Regions from separate parts of the Homo sapiens genome. Here region 1 is linked to region 2. The links are contacts of gene promoters, found by promoter capture Hi-C in human tissues and cell types (Jung and others, 2019). All regions are on one chromosome and are shown on one strand. The core of a region is centred on a gene start or on the middle of the fragment in contact, and the rest is flanking DNA. Distances in the headings are between cores, read along the strand shown.

What was found. Contacts are between HindIII fragments. The study calls those that stand out against the background at their distance.
Region 1: a contact is called between a fragment that was not itself captured here and the fragment with the promoter of DYNLT1 in region 2, in 1 of the 25 tissues and cell types used here (lymphoblastoid cells).

The regions. Positions count from the first base shown.
Region 1 is chr6:157,549,211-157,554,107 of GRCh38, forward strand. All of the region lies in intron 2 of ZDHHC14 (zDHHC palmitoyltransferase 14), which reads left to right. Among named protein-coding and RNA genes, the nearest start is that of MIR3692, 23 kb to the left of the region's middle. RefSeq lists a silencer at 953-1,153 and an enhancer at 3,011-3,833. The HindIII fragment of the contact is 3,701 bases long and covers 1,485-4,897 here.
Region 2 is chr6:158,641,235-158,646,694 of GRCh38, forward strand. DYNLT1 (dynein light chain Tctex-type 1) reads right to left here and starts at 3,509. Exons shown (of 5, transcript NM_006519.4): 1 at 3,448-3,509; 2 at 85-126. The coding sequence starts at 3,474. It also overlaps a transcript of SYTL3 not described here. RefSeq lists an enhancer at 2,880-3,823 and silencers at 2,947-3,276, 3,437-3,666. The HindIII fragment of the contact is 14,460 bases long and covers 1-5,460 here.

The DNA.
Region 1 (4,897 bases), core at 2,085-4,584, 1.1 Mb before region 2:
CCTCTCTCCCCGGTACAGCCTCGAGCTTCGAAACAGAAAGCCGAGCCTAGTATGCCGCGGCCGGCGGGCTTGGTTCTCAAATCCTGGGCTCCAGTGGGTGTAGCAGGAAGAACTTCGGGGAATTTCCAGACAATCTAACTCCCCTCTTGGAGCTTCTTGAAGATTCAGGGGCCTTTTTCTAGTGGGACGCTCACTGATGTCTAGATGTTCCGTGATGTTTGAGGCAAGGGAGAGTGGGGGAGTCCCATCGTGCCGGACATACCTTCTGGAAGAGACAAAGGCTTCTAAAAAGGTACATCCTAGAAAAAAATGTAGCTTCCTTGTCTGGGGGAAGTGCCAGAACCATCTAGAGTGCATGGATGCCAGGAAGTGGGGCAGTGAGACTCCTGCACAAGGTCAGGGTGGCAGCTCGGGATGTCGAGATTCCGATGTCCCTTTAACAAGAAACCCCAGCCTGGGAGAACTGGAAACCAGATGTCACAACTCAAAATTATGGTATTTGGGGAAATACCACAAGATTTTGAAGGGTCTGATTCTAAGGGAAGGAGGGAGCCAGAGATGTTTTTCCACAGGATTTGGAAGGATGTGTGGTTTTCATCCAGGACATTCAAGGAAGCCAGTGTTATTTATTCTTCCTATGGAAATCCAAACTTGTGGGAATGTACCATGTGTTGGAATTGAAGCCATTGTCTGATGCAAACATATTTCCGTGATTTTGAAGTTGGCGACATTACTATACACTGATTGGCATGGGGACTTAGGAGGACAGCTCCAGAAAGCTGTCTTGTAGCTCCTGTCTCCTGGTGGACGTCCTTCACAGAATTGTCTTCTTGGTCCTCTAGAGAGCTTTGTGGGTGGAAAGTGGCATTTTCCTCCTTACAGGAAGAGAAATTGAGAGAAGGGGGTTATTTCACTTGATGAGATCACACTTTGGTGCTCAGCCTGCACTGAGCCTAGGAGTGTGAATTCCTAAGTTCACATAGGCATTCTAGAGAGACCACAGCATCACATAGTCATTCTAGCTAGCGACCGCAGCATCACACAGACACTCTAGAGAGACCACAGCATCACAAGACACGCTAGAGAGACCACAGTGTCACACAGGCATTCTAGAGAGACCACAGCGTCACACAGGCATTCTAGAGAGACCACAGTGTCACACAGACATTCTAGAGAGACTGCAGTGTCACACAGGCATTCTAGAGAGACCACAGTGTCACACACACGCTCTAGAGAGACCACGGCATCACACAGGCACTCTAGAGAGACCACAGCGTCACACAGGCACTCTAGAGAGACCACAGCGTCACACAGGCACTCCAGAGAGACCACAGTGTCACACAGACACTCTAGAGAGAACACGGTGTCACACAGACACTCTAGAGAGAACATGGTGTCACACAGACACTCTAGAGAGACCATGGTGTCACATAGGGATTCTAGCGACCACAGTGTTTCCCCTCCTGAATGTCCCTCTTTGTGTAGTTTGTGTACCTGTGTAAAGATGTGAAATCTCCTCTGTAGAATTGATGAACTCCTCCCTAAAGCCAGGATACCACTTCCTTTCAGGTAAGGGGAAGTCTATCTTTCTCTTACTGCACCAATGTCACTTTCTTTAGAGTTTGTGTTGAGCTGGCACGATGATGGCGTACAGCAATGTTGACATGCTCTGCTAAAACACAGAATATACTGTGATTATAATCAGTTCTTATATACAGGGCCATGGAAGGGGAAGGATGATGGCATAACCAGGGTGAGGAGAAGGTCATCCTGAGGGCAAGGAACACAGAGGTTGTGGTGTAGTGGGGAGTAAAGGACCAAGTGGCATGAAGAGGATGGAAAACTTGGGACCACATGCATGGTTCAAGAATACAGTCAAAGCATGGAGAGAGTGGTCTGGAGCATGTTAGTGAAAATTCCAGGCCCACCCCTACCCAGCCAAGGGCATCAAGAGAGGTGATGACTTGTGGGTCTGTCCATCTCTCACAACAGCTTTCCGTGTCCCCTCCCTTCCTCCTGGGGTGCTGGCCACTGCAGGGCTCTGAGTCATGGGACATTCCAGCTTAAAGGGACCTCAGCAGTCATGGAGGTCACCCTGGACAACTCCTTTGGTTTACAGATGAGTAAACTGAGGCTCAGAGACAGGTGTAACTCCACCCACTGACAACAGAGCCAATCAGTGACAGGCCTGGGACCCTGGCATGGGGTCTGGTTCCAAGTCCAGGTATATATAGCCCTCCTTTAACTTCCTGGCTCCTGAAACAGAATATCTAAATCTTTGCTACTCAAACTGAGGCCCATGGAAGAGTAATGTCAGCATCGCCTGGGAGTTATTAGAAATGCAGACTCTTGGGCCCTGACTCACCTGGTAAATCAGAATCTGCATTGCAACAAGACCACAGGTGAGTCACCTGAATGTGAGAAGCACAGCCCTGGGGCCTTTCCACGTCCCTCCTGTGACCTTCCTCTACAGCATAGCCTCTGCTTCCTCTCCACTGCAACTCCCAGGACTGTCGTATTTTCAGGAGTTTTGCTAGCTACAAGTTCCTCTACTTTGAGCGTTCTGTTTAATCACCTCCCTCCCTGCAGTGCCTGTGAGATAAATAGCGTCTTATTCCTTATTATTACATATTTAAAATAGCCATATGAACTTAGTCTATGACTTTGAGAAGTGTGTTGACTTCTTGGGGCCTTAGTTTCAGTGTCTGTAAAATAGACCCACTGAGTGCAAAGAGCCATTCCAGCGTTATCATTCCATGATTCTAGAAATAAATCCCTCTTTCTCCTTTGCTTGGTTGTGAAAATCTGGGAACCTAAATACTTTAGAGGATTATTTCGACGGTTCCACTGCTTAAACAGAAGAAATGACGTCTTCTGTTAATTTTAAAATGCAAAGCTCCGTGCACACCCATGTAAATTCAACAAGCAAACTGTAGGTACTGCAAAATAAGATATTTCAATGACTCACTGGAATATTACTATCATTAGTAGTGTAACTGGCGTATTTGGGAGGATAAAGCAAGATGATGGAACGGTAGCTCTTTTGAGTGAGTGAGGGAGTGAGTCAGTCAGTCAGTTGGGTTTTAGAAGGAAGCCAGAGATGAAACCCTTCATGCAGAGTCGGCAGGGCAGGGCAGGCGGCACATTGGGCACAATAATCTCTGGAACAGCCCTCTGCAGTGGATGTGCTGGGCGTGAGGAGGAGGGGAGGCCAGATGGGCTTTTCAGGAGAAAAACCCCCCTGGAGGATGTTAATCAGGGGAGTGGGCAGCTCTTTGTGCTTGGGAAGTGGGAGGCATTTTTATTCCAAGTGTGGAGGTAACATGAAAGGCAGCTCAGGAACAAAAGGAAGCAAAGGACTCAATGAGGACGGAGGAAATGGACCAAGGCAAGGAGGTGTGGCGGGACCTGTTTGGGAGGAGACTGACCTGGGAAGACTGAGCAGGTGCAACGGCATGGAAAAGAGTCCCAGCCATGCTGAGCCCAGGAGGGGACTTAGAGAGCAGAGGCTGCTGCCTCAGAAGCCAGGCCTTCCCTGCAGAGCCTCTCAGGGACAGCTTGTTTCCTAGCGGCCCCAGGAGCCTTCTACACCCTGCCTTATAATACACATCTGCAAGTTTTTGGTGGCTGGAGTTGTGACTGGGAATCTGATCTAACCTAGAGCCATCTGCCAAACTACACACTCAGACTGTCCCTGATTACCTCTCACACCTCATTGTTAAAATTATTCAGGACATTTGTTAAAACATGAAGGCAGACTGTATTCAGGGAGACCATGCAGGGTCATAGGGACCAGTGCAGTGGGGTTTGCAGTAGGGAAGAGGCATTGGGCTCCGCTCCAAATACAGCAAGGAACAGTGGGAATTTACAGCCAAGGAGCAGAGTTGGGAGCAGTGGATGGAAGACTACTAAAAGGAAGCCTCAGGGCTGAGGGGGCTTCTGGCTAAACCAACCTAACCAGATTCCAGGCGAAGGCAGGCCAGGGTGGTCAGAGATTCCCTGGGGGATGGTGGGGGATGAGGAGCCCCATTGAGTAGCAAAGGGGATCAGATATTGAGGGTGAGGGTTCTGGCTAACTCGACTCAGCAGGACTTTTGCTAAAATTGAGCATTGCAGAAACAGACATAGAAGCCCCCAAATCAGGGCCTCGCTGGGAAGAGCACTCAGAGATGCCTGACTAGAGTTTGGCAAGGATGGGATCTTCCTTATCACGGATGCCTTCAGGTCATCCACATGTTCACACACTCTGTGAAAATAGGACTTTGCTGAGGTGTCCTCTTTGGGGTCCACATGCACATCTGTGATATTACTGAGACTCTGCCATAATAATCACCCTCCGAACCCCTGTCATGATCAAACCAACTCACCCTTTGCCTTCCCGGTGACCTTTCTCACTTCTTTACTTTAGACTCGTATGCTGGGGGGTGGGAGAGGGCTGGGGGGAAATACAGCCTGCTCTGGGGGAGCTGTATCTCCCTTCCCTCTGTGCCCTGGAAAACTTACATGTAAGGATGGGAGATACATTAACTGTTTATTTTGTGTTTCTGGTAGATAAGTTCTGAGATTAAGAATCATTGCCTACAAACATGAGTTGATTGATGGCTACCATGTAGTTGAAAGTCTGACATGGGCAGCACTCAGAGCCTAGCGGGTACTTAGAGAGAGGACAGGGAAAGCAGACGGAGGTGCCACCGGGATGAGTGGAGTTGTCCCATGAGGGCTCTTCCTGCCACCATGTTTGGTAAGGAAGAAATTCCCCATAATTTTCATCTGTCCAAATTTACCTTCCAAGGCTTTTAGAGAAAAAACTTGGCTGACATAGATAGACAGAAGCGAACACCATTTATTCAGAAACTGTAGATAAAGCTTTCTAGGAGAAAACACAAGTCCAAGTGGG
Region 2 (5,460 bases), core at 2,259-4,758:
CAATTCCAAGATAGTATTTAAAACACATTATTTTCTCTAATATAAGCCATTAAACATTTAAGAAGTGAGCATTTCTCCTCTTACCTCTTTTACAATGTTGCTCACTTCATCAACAACAAAAGCAGTCTGTAAGGAAGAACATTCAGTTAAGTTTGATTTATTTAAAAGATATTTCCACTACATTGATAAATGCAAATGTAGGTAATGAACATAATGTAGAAATGAAGACCTTAGAAATAATCTAACTAGACTGTTCAGCTTTACCAAGGATGGCATTACAGTCTTCAGAAACCAGAAGACTAGAATACATGCACATAATTTAAAGGTATTGTTTTATTTTTATTTATTTATTTTTGAGACGGAGTGTCGCTCTGTAGCCCAGGCTGGAATGCAGTGGCGCAATCTCAGCTCACTGCAATCTCTGCCTCCCAGGTTCAAGTGATTCTCCTGCCTCAGCCTCCCAAGTAGCTGGGATTACAGGTGCCCTCCACCACACCCGGCTAATTTTCGTATTTTTAGTAGAGATGGGGTTTCATCATGTTGGCCAGGCTGGTCTCGAACTCCTGACCTCAGGTGATCCTCCCGCCTCAGCCTCCCAAAATGCTGGGATTACAGGCGTAAGCCACCACACCTGGCCCTGTTTTGTTTTAATCATGCCACAATCTAAGACTTCACTTTAAACTAGAATTCATTCTCTTCTTCCATTTCAACTGGCTGCTAGAATCATTAACCAATAGAGAGGCTTAATGAGTTGGTTGATTTTTGTATAAATTAACTGAAGCTGCTGAAGTAATCCATTTAAGATGTAATTCTCTCTTCCATGATGTAAACTGATTAGGAGGATCAGTTTGACCTTGAGGAGATTTTTTTAAAGCACCATTACTTGTAAAATGTACGATGATTACATTATCTCCAGGTAATTATTTTTCTTTCCCAGTGCTGCCCTCCGACTCCAGGACTAACCACCAGCTGCCAGCATGGCTGTTCTCTGTCAGTGTCTGGATGACTCAGGAGGTGGGCTGCCTGCAGGAATCTAGTGCCAGGAGTATAGTTTTCCTTTTACACATGGTAGATCTGAATGGGTAAAAGGTCATCCTGAAAATAACATTAGTCAGGCACTTGCCTGCCAATGTGCTCTTCACATGAGCACAAGCGTTTAAAGTTACTGCTGAGTCCCAGGAAAGGTACGTAGCTCTGGACACGCCTTCGAGAGGGCAACCCCTGGGGCCCTCAGTCAACGTGCATCCTGAGGGAATCAAGGCAGAGAACCCTGACTTGGCAGTGAGTCTTCCTCCCTGTCTGGCTGCTGTCCACTGCAGGCCCTGCCCTTTCTTTTTAGGGGGTTCAGGAGCTGACTGCCCGAAGCCACCTCACTTGCTGTACTCAGAAGTCGGACTTGGAAACAAAACCAACTCACTGAGTGAAGAACAATTTGCAATATCTTAGAGATTAAGTCATTTCTGGAAGCTTAAAGGATCCTTCCAAGTGACTACCGTGACCTTAATCACAAAGGAAAGGCACTGTATCACCTCCCATATGGTTACAGTACGAAAAAGGTTGAGGGACATTTTAAAGAATTTTTAGTGGAAAGCAGAGTTGTATTGAATCCAGTGGATAGTTTTAACGTCTCCAAGAAAGATGAATGGTGAGTTGAGAGAATAGTTACAAAGGCCCAGGCATCTACACGAAGTTAGAAGAGATGCAGAAAAGGCTGCTAAGAGGCTGGTGGGAGGACCAGAACGGGCCATTCAGTAAATACCTAAGACATGCCTACTACAAGACAGCCATGGTCTCCACCTCCCAGGGCCTCCATCCCAGGTAGAACACTCATCACTCTGTCCAGCCCCTTCATTTTACACATATGCGATTGAGATCTCGAATAATGAAGCCACTTAGCCACCTTATTTGTGGGAGTCAGAATCGGACTGCAGTATTAAGCGCTTTCCTTTACAAAGCGATTTCTTTTTTAGAAGTTTTACTCGATATTACTGTAATACAAGACATTTTCCAATATTATATTAGTAACAGTTTAAGGGGAAAGGCTTTTTTCTTTGCCAACTGCTCCTGAACCAGCTCTTCTCGTCATTATTCACTTGGTTGCCATCAGCATTCAAACACTGATTATGCCACTGTCACAGGAAGTGTGTGCTAGTTAGGAAATCAGATCAAAACTGAAACTCTAGAATCAGTCCTTAAGTTTTAGTTTTATTTTCCCTGAAAACATTCCTCCTTAAACGAAATTTTTTTCTTTTTTTTTGGTTTTTGAGACGGAGTTTCGCTCTTGTTGCCCAGGCTGGAGTGCAATGGCGCGATCTTGGCTCACGGCAACCTCTGCCTCCCAGGTTCAAGGGATTCTCCTGCCTCGGCCTCCCGAATAGCTGGGATTACAGGCATGCGCCACCACGCCCGGCTAATTTTGTATTTTTAAAAGAGACGGGGTTTCTCCATGTTGGTCAGGCTGCTCTCGAACTCCTGACCTCAGGTGATCCGCCCGCCTAGGCCTCCCAAAGTGCTGGGATTACAGGCGTGAGCCACTGCGCCCAGCCACTAAATTTCATAAATGGTAAGATATCCAACCTTACCAAATGTATCTATAGTTTATATTTTTGACAGGCTGCATAATAAATCCATAGGGCTCTATCTGAATTTCAACAAGGATTATTCAGTAAGAAGAAAATGAGTGTTGTATCTCAGCTGCGCCCATCAGCTCTATTCCCCGAATGACCGTGAGCTTGAAGGAAAGCCATTTAACGCACACGGTGCCGATGGGTGTCTTCTGCTTGGCGACATCGTGGGCTTTATCCTACTTCCTCAAGGAGGCATAAAAGATGATTTTTTCCCCACAACAATGAGCTTTCTTACAGACATATTAAACGGAAATGAAATGTGCTACTCATTCCCAGCGTTGCAGAACCAGGTGAGGCCCGAGACAAAGGCGCGGGATGGCCGGGACGCCAGCCCGGGGCGGAGGGGCTGGCGGCGGGAGCGTCACCCGCACCTCCGCGGGGAGACGTCCAAGCCTCGGCGCTCCCAGCCCGGCCGCCGCGCCCCGCTCCAGGCTGGGGCTGGGGCTGGGGTCAGCCCCGCAGAGCAAGGGGCGGTGATGTCATCCTCTCGGCGAGCTTGGCTGCGGGCCGGAGGCGAGGCCCTGCGGGAAGGTTTCTCGGCACCGCTCACCGGGGCGCTCTCTCCGAGTCACGCCCGGTGCCTCCCCGCGCGGGAAGAAGCTCAATCCCCTTCCCGCCCCCCGCGCCGGGGAAACGGCGGCAATGTCCGGGCAGAATGGGGCCGGGCGGAGCGCCGGCGACCGGGAAGCTCAGGCCGTGGGCTGCCGAGACTGGCCTAGCTGAAGGAGGTGGGCAGCCAGGCCTTTCCGGGCAGGACCGCGTGTCCTTCCGCGGCCAGGGCTCTAGGCCTCCACCCTTCCGTCGCCGACCCGGCGGTTACCTCCTCCGCAGCCTGGTAGTCTTCCATCTTTCCTCCGGCGCGTCCCCTCCGGCTCCCTGAGTGGCGCGGACTGCGCAGGCGCACTCAGGCCCCGCCCCGGACCTGCCACGCCCCTCTCCTCTCGCGCCTGCCTCGCCCATGCCCAGCTCCCGGGCCCCGCCCTTCGCTGCCCGGACCCTCAGTGACCCCATCCCTGGGCGGGGCCCGTGGGTGGACCCTGAATTCGCCTCTCCTCCTGTCCTCTGGGAGGTGGTAGTTTCCATGGGAATCCGTGAGGGTAGCCGGGCAGCTCCCTAAACCTTAGCAACAGAAACAAAACACACGTACAAAAGGCAGTCCTGGAGGGGAAGCGTGGTCCCGGCCCCTCCTCCGGTTTGTACTGTGTGGATTGACGCGGACGTTCAAACCCGCTCGGACACCTGGCAACAAACTCGAAAGTGACTGCTGAAGGCAGTGCGCCCGGTGAGACGTTGTTGCAGTTCCCTTGGGGACTGGGATTGGCATGCTTTAGCTATCTGAACGAAACTTCCCTTTGGGGAGTTAAGTTTTCCAGGTAAATGAGAATTTTTCCTTTAAGCACCATTAAAAAAAAACATTTTGGGTGGAAAATTTTGTAAAATGTGGCACACTTCCTGACTACCTTAACCATAGTGAACTAGACAGACTTTATTTGTATGTGGGTTCTTTATGGAAATTAGGAATTGCACTGGGCTCTGGTAAACTGCCCTCCACGGAAAGCTGGGGCATATGCATCTATTGGCAGGTATTCTGAGGCTCCGAGTTTTGATTTTGGCGTTTGCTTTTTCTGGTTTCGTCATGCACTTGAATTCAGGTTGCTGGAACCCACTTCCCATTCCCCAAGAAAGAGCTGACTGCAAGGGTCCCAGGGATTTGGTAGACCTAAACTTCAAATCCCACATCTAATCCATCAACAACCCTTGTTATTTCTACCCCATATGCTCGGGACCCCAGTTAAAGATTGATATCTCTCATCTGGATTATGACCATCGGACTGTAACCTGGTCGGTCTATCAGGGTCTTATTAGAGCCCTTCAAGAGGAACCTAACCCAACGACTCCTCCCTCCCCTCACCCATTCTGCCCTGCCATAAGTCAATAGTTACTAAGTTGTCAGACTATAGACTAATCTTAGTGATCTTTGGATGACTAAACTTTTAACATATCTTAGCTCAAAATCTCCTACAGAGAGCCATTCTGTGACCACGGCATCTAAGGTAGCCGACCTCCTCATCCTCCACCCCTGCATCCTGTACATTTTCCTCATAGCACTTCTCTCAGTTTGCAAGAACGTATTTATGGTTGCTTGTTGATGGTGTGTCTCCATTTAGAAACTAAGTACCATGCAGGAAGGATCTGTTTTATTCACTAATGTATCCCCTTCCTTCCACATTGTGCCTGGCACATAATAGCTACACAATTAACATTTATTTATTTATTTATTTAGAGACAGGGTGTCATTCTGTTGCCCGGGCTGGAATGCAGTGGTGTGATCGGAGATTTTGAGCTAAGATGTGTTGAAGTTTAGTCATCCAAAGACCACTAAGAGCTTGAACTCCTGGGCTCAAGGTATTCTCCTGCCTTAGCCTCCTGAGCAGCTGGGATTCCAGGCACTAGCCACCACACCCACCTATTTTTTTAATATGTCTTTTGTAGAGATGGGATCTCACTGTGTTGCCCAGGCAGGTCTCAAACTCCCGGGCTTAAGGGATCCTCCAGCCTCAGCCTCCCAAAGTGCTGGGATTATAGCTGTGAGCCACCATGCCCGGCCTAAAATTTATTGCATGAATCATTTCCCTCATGGGTGTTAGCTTTGCCTCAGACCCAAATGGAGAGAACTGGGGAGTGGAGGAAGATGCAACTACCTGCCTCCTTGAGGGAAACAGGGCTGGCGAGAGGAGGGCAGAGCCCTGACTGACACAAGGCTGCTTGGCCCTGGGTGTTCGGCCTGAGCGAGGAGACTTGCTGGGCAGGCTGGTTGCTTTACCACACCTGG